Linked DNA regions of Homo sapiens: region 1 is linked to region 2. Evidence: promoter capture Hi-C in 16 types of primary human blood cells and fetal thymus (Javierre and others, 2016). All regions are on one chromosome and are shown on one strand. Each heading gives the region's core, a stretch centred on a gene start or on the middle of the fragment in contact. The rest is flanking DNA. Distances are from core to core; before and after follow the strand shown.

Region 1 (6,948 bases), core at 2,553-5,052, 200 kb after region 2:
TGGAAAGTAAAGGAAAATAACTAGGGGCCGAAAAGAACTAGAAGTCATGATTTCATAAGCACTTGAGCCAGCATGTAACCTGAGGGCATCTGCAGATGCCTGATGGCCCAGTATCTGAGAGTCAAGTAGAGTAAAGGGTCAGAAGGAGGCTGCCCACAAAAGCCAGGATCTTCCACTGACAATGACATCAGAAGTGGGTGAATAGAAAAGATACCCACTGAAAAAGACTCTGGCTGTTTTGACCTCGGCTCTGGGTAAACAGAGAGGGGCAAAAAGTCTCTTAATCAGTTGTAGCCACAAGTATGCACTCATTCAGCTTGGGAGGCAAATCCACAATATTTCTGAGACACAAAAAGGCCCAAGATAAAAATCCTCCCTAGAGGAACATCCTTTAATCATAGGCCTCAAACAACTCCAACATATAAAGTTCCAAGGAACATATTCTCACAATCAAAAATCCCTACATGCATGAGGAAACAAGCCACAATGAATGAGAGTTATAAAGAAAGATAAAATGTAAATTCAGACACACGAAGAGTACAGAAATTAAATATAGTGCAGAGGAAAATCCTTAAGAGAAGATAACATTTGGGCAAAGACATGAAGAAGGTGAGAGAGTGAGCCATCCAAGTATCTCAGGAGAGGTGACCTTAGTGGAGAAATCAGAGTTCAAAGGGTCTGAGGCAGGAACATGACTGAATGTTCCAGAAACAGCATGCAGTTTGACCTACACTTCTAAAAATATCCTTCTGGATTCTATGTTGAGAATATAGAGGTGAAGGACAAGAGCAAAAGCAGGTAAGCCAGATAGATTATGAATTCGTGTGAGATATGTTGGGTGAATTAGACCAAGGATGTAAGGCATAAAACTGAGATGTAGACAGATTCTTGAAGGTAGGGTAGAGAGGATCTGATGATGGATTGAATGTGGTTGAGAAAGAGAGAGAGGAATCCAAATCACTTTTCACCTACGATGGGAAAGAAGAAAGATGAAGCATGATTGGGAGAAGGGCAGGAGTTTTTTTCTGAACAGGTTGTGCTCAGATCACCAAATTGGGAAGTTAAATAGACAGTTGGATATATGAATATGGACTTCAGAAGAGAGGACTTAACTGGAAGTTTCATTTAGGGGCTGACATAAAGATGAAGCTAATGAAAAAAAAAATCTCACATTCAAGAAGGGCAATGCATCTCTAGAAGAATTAAAAACAGGATCTGGGACATCAGGTTTTAGCTCCAGTACGTAAATGGATTGGAACTCATCACTCCCATATAAACAATAAGATAAAAAGCTGAAGAAATGGAAAATCAATGACTTTTTTTTTTTTAACTCTTCAGAGAATTGATGTTGCAGAGCAAATGGGCACCCTGAAATCCGGAGAGAAAGACAAATACAAAGAATCACAGCCAAGATCAGCTTGCTGAGTTTTTGAAACGGTAAATAAAATTGATAAATCTTTAGCTAGACTAACTAAAAAAGAAAAAGAGAGAAGACTCAAATAAAAAAATTATAAATGAAAGAGGAGACATTCCATCTAATATCACAAAAATACAAAGTATCATAAAGAAGAACCATAAACTGTTATACAGCAATAAATTGGATCACCTACAAAAAGTGGATAAATTCCTAGACACATACAACTTACCAATCATGAAGAAATAGAAAATCTGAACAGGCCGGGTGCGGTGGCTCATGCATGTAATGCCAGCACTTTCGGAGGCCGAGGCGGGCAGATCACAAGGTCAGGAGATTGAGACCATCCTAGCTAACACGATGAAACCCCGTCTCTACTAAAAATACAAAAAATTAGCCTGACGTGGTGGCGGGCACCTGTAGTCCCAGCTACTCGGGAGACTGAGGCAGGAGAATGGTGTGAACCCGGGAGGCGGAGCTTGCAGTGAGCCGAGATCATGCCACTGCATCTAGCCTGGGTGACAGAATGACACTCCATTTCAAAAAAAAAAAAAAAATCTGAACAGACCAGTAATGAGTAAGGAGATTGAATCAGTGATTGAAAACCTTCCAACAGTAAAAGCCCAGGACCCATTAGCTTCACTGGTGAATTCTACCAAGCATTTACAGGATTAATGCCAATCCTTCTCAAACTCTTCCAAAAAATTCAAGAGGAGGTAATTCTTCCAAACACATTCCATGAGGTCAGCATTACCCTGACATTACAGCCAGAAAAATACATGACAAAAACAAAAAACAAAAAAACAGAACAATATTCCTAAATGAACATAGATGCAAAAATCTTCAACAAAATACCAGCAAACCAAATTCAACAACACATTAAGAGGAGCATACACCATGATCAAGTGGGATTTATCCCTGAGATGAAAGGATGGTTCAAAATACATAAATCAAGAAATGTGATATACCGTATTAATAGAATGAAGAATAAAAATCATATTGTCATCTCAATAGATGCAGAAAAAGCATTTGACAAAATTCAACATAATTTCATGATAAAAAAGAAAAATCTTTCAACAAATTAGGTGTAGAAAGAAGGAACCTCAACACCATAAAGGCAATATGTATCAAGCCCATAGCTAACAACATATTCAATGATAAAAAGCTGAAAGCTTTTCTTCTAAGATCAGGAACAAGACCTGGGTACTTCTATTCAACGTAGTATTGGAAATCCTAGTCAGAGCAATTAGGCAAGAAAAAGGTATAAAAAGCATCCCTACTGGAAAGGAAGAAGTATAATTATCTCTGTTTGCAGATGACATGATCTTATATATAGAAACTGCTAAAGATTCCACAAAATTTTGTTGGAATAGGCAAATTCAGCAAAGTTGTAGGATAAAAAAATCAGCATACAAAAATCAATTGTGTTTTTGTACACTAACAAATAAGTAATAAAAAATAAAATAAATAAATAAAAAGACAGAGATTTGCAGAGTTAATTTAAAAAAATACCCAACTATATGCTGCCTTCGAGAAACACAGATAAGGCAGAAAGACATGGATAGGTTAAAAGTAAAGCAAAGGAGAAGGATATTCCATGCTAACATTAAGCAAAGAAATGTTGGAGCAGCTATATTAATTTCAGACAAAACAGATTGCAGAACAAGGAAACTTATTAGATAAATACCTTCACATGATCTGAATAGGCCTATATCTATTAAAGGAATTTAATCAATAATTAACAACCTGGCATTAAAAAAAGCAACAGACTCAGATGGTTTCACTGGTGAGTTCCACCCAGCATTTAAGGAAGAAATGATACTAATTCTCTACAAGCTTTCCCAGATAATAGAAGAGAGAATACTTCTTAACTCATTCTATGAGACTAGCTCTATCCTAATATCAAAATCACATAAACAACACAAGAAAGAAAATTTATAGCCTAACATCTCTCATTAATATGGTTGCAAAATTCTCAAAAAATATGTTAGAAAATTGAATTCAACAAAGCATAAAAAGAATCATACACCCTGACTAAGTGAGTTATTTCAGATATATGAGGATGGTTCAGCATTCAAAAATCAGCTAACCTAATCCACCACATCACCAGGCTAAAGAAAAAAACCGTACAATTGTATCAACTGATATAGCAAAAGCATTTGACAAAGTCCAACACCCTTTCATGTCAAAAACTCTCAACAATCAAGGAATAGAGGGGAACATCCTCAATCCCATAGAAAGCATTTACCAAAAAACCTACAGCTAACATTATACTTACAGCAAAGAGTTCGCCTCTTATTACTCCCATTCAACATCATACTGGAAGTTGTGGCTGGTGCAATTAAAATAATAATAATAAAAGGAAACAAAAGACATATGATTAGGAAGGAAGGAACAGAACAATCTTTGTTCACAGCTGGGATCTATTTAAATAGAAATTCCCAAGTACAGAACACAATTAATAGGTATAAAAGATATTAATTTACAGGGGAATACAATGTAGAAATTTATATCAATAAAATATGAAAAAGTGGTTACTTTTCTAGAAAAATATTTTATCAAAATTGACTCAAGAAGATGGAAAACTGAACCAATAAATAACCATCCCCAAACCCCTGAAATAAACGCTATACCTTTAATGAACAGATGACTAATGTGTTATTTAAATAATTCCACAAAGAGAAAAAACATATAATGTTTTCCAACTTATCTGTTACCGAAACTGTGCAAGAGTTATTGATAAGAATATCACTATAAACCAGTCTCACTGGTGAACATAGGTACAATAAAATGCTAGCAATGAAACCCAGCAGATTCATAATATATTCCCTCACTGAAAGAAAAGACATATTCTATTGACAAAAGTGGGAGGGAGAAGCAAAATACTTGAAACTTAACAATAAATGTGTATTACCTATGTGAAGAGAACTATAAAGCTTTACTGAAGGTCATAAAAGAAAACTTCAAAAAAATAGACAAATGTATGATGTTCATAGATAAGAAGTTTTAGTGTAGAAATATCTCAATTGAGTCTGTAAATCTAATGCAATCCCAATAAGACAAGTTCATTCTCATGTTCATAAGAACGGAAACATGCTTCTAAGTATATTTTAAAAATTTGAAAAAATTGTTTGGGAAATTTGACCAACCAGAGAGCAAAATATAAAAATACATTGATTTTTGCATGAGGTATTAAAAAAAGAATAGGCTGGGCGCAGTGGCTCAGGCCTGTAATCCCAGCACTCTGGGATGCCGAAGTGGGCAGATCACCTGAGGTCAGGAGTTTGAGACCAGTGTGGCAAACATAGTGAAACCCTATCTCTACTAAAAATACAAAAAAAAATTAGCTGGGTGTGGTGGCACACGCCTGTGATCCCAGCTACTCTGGAGGCTGAGGCAGGAGAATCGCATGAACCCAGGAGGCAGAGGTTGCAGTGAGCCGAGATCAACACTGCACTCCAGCCTGAGCGACAGAGCAAGACTCCATCTCAAAATCAGATCGCTGGAATTGGAGAGTCAAGAAATATTCCATCTAAATTAAAATTTAAATTATCTTAAGTATGATCTTTTACATCAGTCTCTAGAGACTAGTCTATTAAATATATGGTGCTGTGATATTACCTCATATCAGGAACAAAAATTAACTCCAGAGCAATTAAAGAGCTACACATAAAAAAGATAAAAGCATAGAAATATTCAAATAAAACAATATTTTTATAATCTTGGAAAAGGGAGATGGACAGTTTTGACCGTATTGTAACAGATCTTTAAAATAAATGACCCCTTAACAAAAAAGGCCAGCAGTAAACTGAGATACAACGCAGTATATTTTGCAACATATATAACATACAAAGGATTAATATCCAGAACAAAGCCCCACTACATATCAATAAGGAAACAGAAAGACTATAAACAGGCAATTCACAAATTAATAAATATAGTCAATGTAACGCATGCTGTGCTGTGCTCCAGTACTGAAGGATTTATTCTCCCAGCTGCTGAGGGTGTCCATCCTCTCTGGGAGTTGCCGTCAGTGGAAGGGACTCACCTTGCCCAAGGGCATGCGTCCTAGGGCTGCCCTCATTCAATAACTGGGGACTCAGGGCTATGCTGGCATCATCACCATGCTCTAAGTTGGACAACTGGAAAGCACCATTCTAGCTTCAAAGATCACCAGGAGGACAGCTGAGGCCTTAGTTGTGACCAAATAGAAGCCCAACTTCTTCCTCTGCCCAGTCCTGCTTCCTTCCCTCCCAATTTGGGTGTTAATCAAGAGAGCACTTCCTCATAACTTCCTGTACCCTAATTTCCATCTCTCCGCCTGCTTGCCGGGACCTGACCTGCAACAGTCAGTGGACATAAAAAGATACCTTGCCGGCCAGGGGTGGTGGCTCACGCCCATAATCCCAGCACTTTGGGAGGCTGAGGTGGGCAGATCACGAGGTCAGGAGTTCGAGACCAGCCTGGCCAACATAGTGAAATCCCATCTCTACTAAAAATACAAAAATTAGCCGGGTGTGGTGGCACAGTCCTCTTGTCCCATCTACTCGGGAGGCTGAGGCAGGAGAATCGCTTGAACCCGGGAGGCGGAGGTTGTGGTGAGCCGAGATCGTGCCACTGCACTCCAGCCTGGGCAATAGAGCCAGACTCCGTTTCAAAAAGAAAAAAAAAAAGTACTTTGCCCCAGTCCTAATAAAATCAAAGGTTCTATTTTGCTTATTAGATTGGCAACATTTTCAAAGGCTGATAATATCCAGGGTTAGTGAGGGTGTGAGTAAATGACCATTTTCATACATGGTTGGAAAGTAAATTGGTAAATCATTTTTGGAAAGCAATTTTCCATAGCCTCTCAGTTCTGCCTTTCAGTACCTATCTATAACAATTACTAATGCATCTGCATAAAAAGACATATAAAGCAGTTCACTGAAACTTCATTTTTAATAGAGAAAAACTGCAAACACTACACGTGCTGTTTTATAATCTGCTCAACATTTCCTGCTTTGGAGAACCACCTCTTTCCATCTTATTATGAGATGGTGGGACTGTTCATCCCAATAGCTCCTTCCTCCATCTGGGTGCAGTGGTGAGCACAGAACCCAACCCTGGCCAATCACAGCATCTCATTTCCCTGAACACAGGGAAATGGCCCTGGCCAGGAGTGGGCACCTGATCCCAATAGGGCCAATCTCAGAACTGCTGCAGAACTGACAGACGGATACCATTGCAGAGAAACTTTCTTTGCAGAGTGGTGGAGCCAGGGACTCTCAGTGACCGTCTTCCCTGGGATGTGAAGAAAACTTGTGTGTGACATGAAAGCAATGCACACACTGAGGCTGATCAAGAGCTGGGAACGTTGATCTTTAAAGCAATTGTCCAGTCTCTAGATCCAGGAATGTCTGACTCTTCCATTTCAATAAGCCAGCAATTTCCCCAATTTTACAAAAACTAGTTTAAAACAAATTTCTAAACCTTGCAACCAAAAGAATATTAATGTGATTTGTTGAACATTAGGGGATTAAATAACTAATATTACC
Region 2 (6,255 bases), core at 2,518-5,017:
ACTCTGCAATTTTAAGGAACTTATTGATAAGATCATTGAGTGTTAGTCCTGGCTTTCAGTTTAGAAAGGAGGTGAATATATTAGTGGCATAACTTAAATAACAAGAAATCATTTACCATTTTTATAGCTTGCTTATGATGGGCTTAAGAGACTAAGCCCACCAAGTTACTTTTGAGACCTGCAAGAATGTTTGTGCCACAAAGGCAGAGGTTTTTGTCTATTTTCTTGCACTGATCTATCCTAAATACCTACAACAGTGTCTGGTACATAATTGGCATTTGATATTTATAAACCTCATTAACTCCATTTTTCCTAGGAGTAATGATCTCATAAATGGTATACAAAATCTACCAGGTCTTGAATCAACATTTGTGTCCTTTGCCCGGATAACAAAAAGTTTTCTTTCATAATCCACAGCTTAGTAAAAAAGCAATTAAAAAATCTGAAGAGATATATTCTGGGGAAACTGAGGTTACTTCCTTTCCACTTGTCCTCATATGTCCATGTCTGTGTGGAAAAAGTGAAAGGAATGGAATTTATACATAGTTAACATACCACAGAGGAGTAACCAGCCTGGGTTCAAAGAACTTTTCAGGCCGGGCAGGTGGCTCACGCCTGTAATCCCAGCTCTTTGGGAGGCCGAGGTGGGCGAATCACGAGGTCAGGAGTTCAAGACCATCCTGGCCAACACAGTGAAATCCTGTCTCTACTAAAAATACAAAAATTAGCCGGGTGTGGTGGCACGTGCCTTGTAGTCCCAGCTACTCAGGAGGCTGAGGCACAAGAATCACTTGAACCCGGGAGGCGGAGGCTGCAGTGAGCCGAGATCGCACCACTGCATTCCAGCCTGGGCAACAGAGTGAGACTGTCTCAAAAAAAAAAAAGAAACTTTTCAAGATGTTAATGTCTATTAGAATAACCCAGGAAATCTATCTAGTTTTCTTCAGTGAGAGTTTGTGGAATTATGTTTGACATCAGGGCCATCTTAAACGGTATATCGTAGGAGCAATCTTAAACGGTATATCATAGCCTTAAGGAAATTACCATAGTCTCAGTAGAAATCCTAGGAAGTAGAAAATCCTTGGGGAGAATCTACAGTGTCAGGGTTAGCTCAAATTGCATGTCAAGGGTCAAAAGCAACTCCTAGCATTAGAGACACTGACCAGAATTTATCACATACATTAAAAAGCCACGTCTTCATAGAAACTCCTAGATACTTCTGAAAGGCATTTATTCTAGGTCTCTAACTTCAGACCACACTACTTTTAAGACTTTGGAGGGCCTGGGCAAGCTTATTCACACAATAGCCAATATATTAAAATGTTAAAATGTGCCTGCATCGCCCATTAAATGTCATTTGCATCATAAAAACTTTTGAAATTTGTATTTGAAATTACTCAGCAATCAGTACATACACCTGGAAATTCTTGTAAAATGAGAAAATTGTTTTCAAATGTAATAAAAATTTATATTAATAAAACATTTAATTAACACTAATTTTTCAGTTCTCTTTTCATATTTTAGAGCCAATATAAGCATTTTTTTCAAATCTCAAACATCTTCCTTAGGTGCTTGAAAAGTGAACAGGCCCTAGACCTTGTGCCTATAATATTTCAGGCAGAGAGGCAGAAACTATTCTGGGCAAATGAGAATCTATCCTACAATTAATCTCTAGGAAAAAAAAAAGAGAGAGTTTATAGCACTCTATAACCAATTCCAAGACAGAGCAGCCTTTGATTTATAAAATAATTGCTTATGAATAATATTCAGGAAGCAATTTAATTACACCTGCATAAAGTTGTTTTAAATCATCTGATTTTCACTTAGGAACTAATTTTTCCTACTTCAGGATAGTGTTTTTGAGCAATTGCATAGTGCAGAGGTTAGAAGAGCTTACACAGACAGTATTGCAATGATAGAGTGTCTCCTAAGCTAAAGAATGAAGTTAAAAGCCTATGTGTTTTATCATGGCCCGGCGTGGTGGCTCACTCCTGTAATCCCAGCACTTTGGGAGGCTGAGGCGGGTGGATCACCTGAGGTCAGGAGCTCAAGACCAGCCTGGACAACATGGCAAAACTCTGTCTCTACTAAAAATACAAAAATTAGCCTGGAGTGGCGGTGGCATGTGCCTGCATTCCCAGCTACTGGGGAGGCTGAGGCAGGAGAATTGCTTGAGGCCGGGAGGCGGAGGTTGCAATAAGCTGAGATCACCCCATTGCACTCCAGCCTGGGTGACAGAGCGAGACTCTGTCTCCTCCCCCAAAAAAAGCCTATGTGTTTTATCACCATATTGGGTATGATAGTTAATGGAGGAGAGACTGAACAGCTGACATAGGTCGGTGGCAATGAGCTATGGAGATGATCCTTACAAGGGTAATACATTTCACTGTGGAGAATTTGGAAAACAAGGGCACAACGAATAAAATAAAAATCACCCAAAGATAAGCTCAGAGAGATCAATACTATTTCTTTTCTTTTCCTTTCCTTTCCTTTCCTTTCCTTTCTTTTTCTTTTTCTTTCTCTTTCTCTCTCTCTTTCTCTCTCTCTCTCTCCCTCTCTCTCTCTCTTCTCTTTTTTTCTTTTTCTTTTTCTTTTTTGAGACAGAGTCTCACTCTGTTGCCCAGGCTGGAGAGTGGCCTGATCTTGGCTCATTGCAACCTCCACCTCCCAGGTTTAAGAGATTCTCCTGCCTCAGCCTCCTGAGTAGCTGGGATTACAGGTACCCGCCACCACGCTCGGCTAATTTTTGTATTTTCAGTAGAGACAGGTTTCCCCACATTGACCAGGTTGGTCTCGAACTCCTGACTTCAGGCGATCCACCCGCCTCAGCCTCCCAAAGTGCTGGGGTTGTAGGCGTGAGCCACCGTACCTGGCTTTGTGTGTTTTTCTAAAGTGATTTTAACATCCTGCCTCAACTTCTATCCCCTACTTTCACCTTCCCTTCCTGGGTTCATATTCCTACTAAATTCTTATATTAACAAATAAATTCATGAAGTCTCAGTTTCCCTTCATTGCTTTAATAATCTCCAGTGGATTAGCATAACATGCCATTACAAATATTTTAAAATCCCTTAGCTATCTAGCCAGTCTCTGATTGTTGAAATTTGTTTCTAATTTTCTGGAAATATGGACAGGGCTGAAAGAACGTCCTTGGACATAAAATTTTCATCCATTATCCCCAACTATTTCTTTAGGATAAATCTCTAGCAGTAAATTAACTGGGTGAAAACTTCAGGGCATTGGATATGCAAACAACTCTGCTCTAAAAATGCATCTTCTTGACTACTGGAGCCATTTTTTTTTTCACGAGTTGATTGGTCCTTTGTATTTGTTCTTCGTGAACGTTCAGCCTATGATTTTAAATATTTTCTAATGAGTTCTGCTTTGAGAAGATTTAAAGAGGAGGAGGGCTCAAGAAATCGAGGCCACTTCTGAGTTGCTCACAGTCAAGTAACGGAATCTGACTTGATCTCACCTCAGATCCCCTCTCGGGCCTCAGTTTTGTCACCTGTTGAATGGGAGGTGGCGGGATGCTTACGAAACCCACCCCAAGCCCCGTCTAACCCTGCGGGCGCGAGGCAGAAACTAACAACGCCCAGCAAGGTGTTGCCTCACTGACCCAAGCAGTCTGCGCCCACGTGGCACCTTCTCCTTTCCCAGGTTTTCCTCAGGCCTCTGCCTTGGGCCTCCCCACCCCACGGGGTTACCTTTACCTGCCGGGAGATCCCGCCGAGTAGCTAGCTGCTCCGCAAACCCAGCAGACGAACCCCCAGTCCCTTGTTGTGCCTCGTTGCTAGGCGACGCCACGCCGCGCCGCGCCTGCGCCCTGGGAACGCTCGGGGCTGCTAGGGCGCCCATTGTCCCGCCGAGGGCAGCGGCCAGTGCGGGAGGAGCCAAGTGCGTCCGCGATTACCTGAATCCAGTGCTTTAGGGGAGAATGGAAACTGGGGGTGGAAGCTGTAAATCAAGAGGCAGTTCAGCCTCAGTTTCTGGCCCAAGGACTGGCTGTGGGTTCAAATACGCAAATACTATTGCATTCTTCCAAATAGAGGCGTCAGCCGGAATCTCTATGCAGATGAAACCCACATCAGCCACCTCCTGCCCAGGCTCCGTTAAGCTGCAGACCTGCACTGCCACATCTCTTTGCACTAGGATGTCCAATCCGTTTCCACAGAACTTCTCATGGCCCTTCAAAGCCCCGTTCTCTTCCTCTTTCTTTCCTCTTCCTGCCATTCTTCCAATTGCCTAGACTCAGAAGGAGCTTCAATTTCCCTTCTTCCTCCCATGCCCCCCAACCACAGTCATCACTTCAGCCACTTCTTGGCGGCTTACATTTTGTTTCCTGCTTGTTCCCTTTCTCATATCCTTATTGTCACTTCAATCCAGCTCGTCATTTTTTGGCCTTCTGGCTGAGAAATTCAGTTGCTCTCTGCTTACAGTTCTTTCTACGTATCACAGGCAAATCGGCCATCCAGAAATCATCGTTCCAGTCTTGTCACTTCCCTACTCAAATGTCAGCGGCTTCCTAAGATAAATTTTCAACACATTGGCCTGGAATTTAAGACCGTCTGCTCCATCTCTACTCCATCTGTGCAACCACATTTTCAACCGATCTCCACCATCCAAGCTCCAGCCAAACTTACTGTTCCCGAAATTTTCCACACTTTTCTCTAGATTTTCTTGCTTATCTGTTCATCACTTCATTTTTCAACAAATATTTATAAAGTAGCTTCTATTTCCCAGGTCATGTGCAATACCTGAAATATTCTCTCATTTCCACTTAATTAAGCCCAGCTCAAATGCCATCTTCATAAAATATTTTTTGATTGCCTTTAGCAAAAAGTCTCTCCCTCTCCTCTTAGACTTTGCAAATTCCGTCTCCTACCGGCCCCTGTTGGTCTCCCAGTCCTAAGAATGATAGATGCTTCTTATAATTGCTACTTTTATATATCTTATGTTCTCTTCTCACCATTTAAATTGCCTGATAAACAGCTTTATAACAATTATTTGTATTCAGTTTTCCATGGTCAAATATCCGGTGTGACTTCTGTATAGAAAAGATCTTAAGTAATGGTCATGAAAGTAGGAAAAGGATTAAGACCAAGTAGCATCAAGGAAACTAAGGAGGGAGTTTCAAGAATATAAGCGTCATCAAGTGTTATATGATTGGACCTTGAATAATATACACCTGTATTTTCAGCCTCTCCCTGTCTTCCACGTTTTTTCCTGTTGGTATATAATTATGTTGAAGCCCCTCCCATGCCTCATCTAAAAAGCAAAAACAAATAAAATCCCTTTGATGTTGTTGTTCCTTCTAACTATTATCCTATTGTTTTCTTTCTCTTCTTGGTCATGACTTTTCAAAAAAAGTAGCCAGCATTAGATACTTACATATTTTTAACTTCCTATTCACTCTTCAGACTATAGTGACCTGTTTTCATCCCAGCACTAAAACTATCCATATCCATTGGATGCTTCTTAGCCCTCATCTTGCTTGACATTGCTGCTGTATATAATACTCAATGACACCTCATTCTTGAAACTCTTTTCTTGGTTTCCTTGGTACTACTTGCTCTTGATCTTCCTCCTACTTTCTTTTATGACCATCATTTAAGATCTTTTCTATACAACAGGGTCTATCTATGTTGCCCAGGCTTGTCTTGAATTCCTGGCCTCAAGGAATCCTCCTGACTCAGCCTCCTGAGTAGCTGGGATTTTATAGGGATATATGCCCTATTGTGGTTTTTTTACAGAATCTTAAATGTTGAAATTTCCCAGGGATCTGTCCCTTGTTCTCTTTTCACACTATATGCTTTTCTAGGTGATCTTATTTATATTTGTGACTTCAACTATTGCACATATGTAGCTCCTCATCAGACTCCGGTACTGAACTCTAGACCCATATATCCTACTTGCTACACAGTTCCACCTGGATACCCACAGGCACTTCAGTCATCAACACTACCCACCTAAACTCATCATTTTCCCAGTATAGACATGTTTTTCCATTTATCTAGGGGTACCAACAGGTGTTCTACCCAAACAGACCACCAAGTCTGACAGGCATCCTAGACTTATTCTCCTTTTCATGCAGTTAATTATTGGATTCCCCTAAAAGTTTCTTGAATTTATTCTCACCTTCCAATTCCCATAGCCCAAGTACAGAAAGTCACTGTCCTTTACCTGAATTCATCTAACAAGCCTTCTGGCAGGTCTTCCATCCTCTAGACTCATCCTAGCTTCAATTCATCTTCT

Evidence for each region. The method cuts DNA at HindIII sites, captures the fragments that hold promoters and counts their contacts. A CHiCAGO score of 5 or more calls a contact.
Region 1: a fragment that was not itself captured here is called in contact with the fragment with the promoter of ARMC3 in region 2 in 1 of 17 cell types (megakaryocytes); the score reaches 5.0 in megakaryocytes.

What each region holds. Positions count from the first base shown.
Region 1 is chr10:22,727,436-22,734,383 of GRCh38, reverse strand. No RefSeq gene overlaps it. Among named protein-coding and RNA genes, the nearest start is that of PIP4K2A, 16 kb to the right of the region's middle. The HindIII fragment of the contact is 1,100 bases long and covers 3,253-4,352 here.
Region 2 is chr10:22,925,565-22,931,819 of GRCh38, reverse strand. ARMC3 (armadillo repeat containing 3) reads right to left here and starts at 3,767. Exons shown (of 19, transcript NM_173081.5): 1 at 3,714-3,767. The HindIII fragment of the contact is 5,434 bases long and covers 1,294-6,255 here.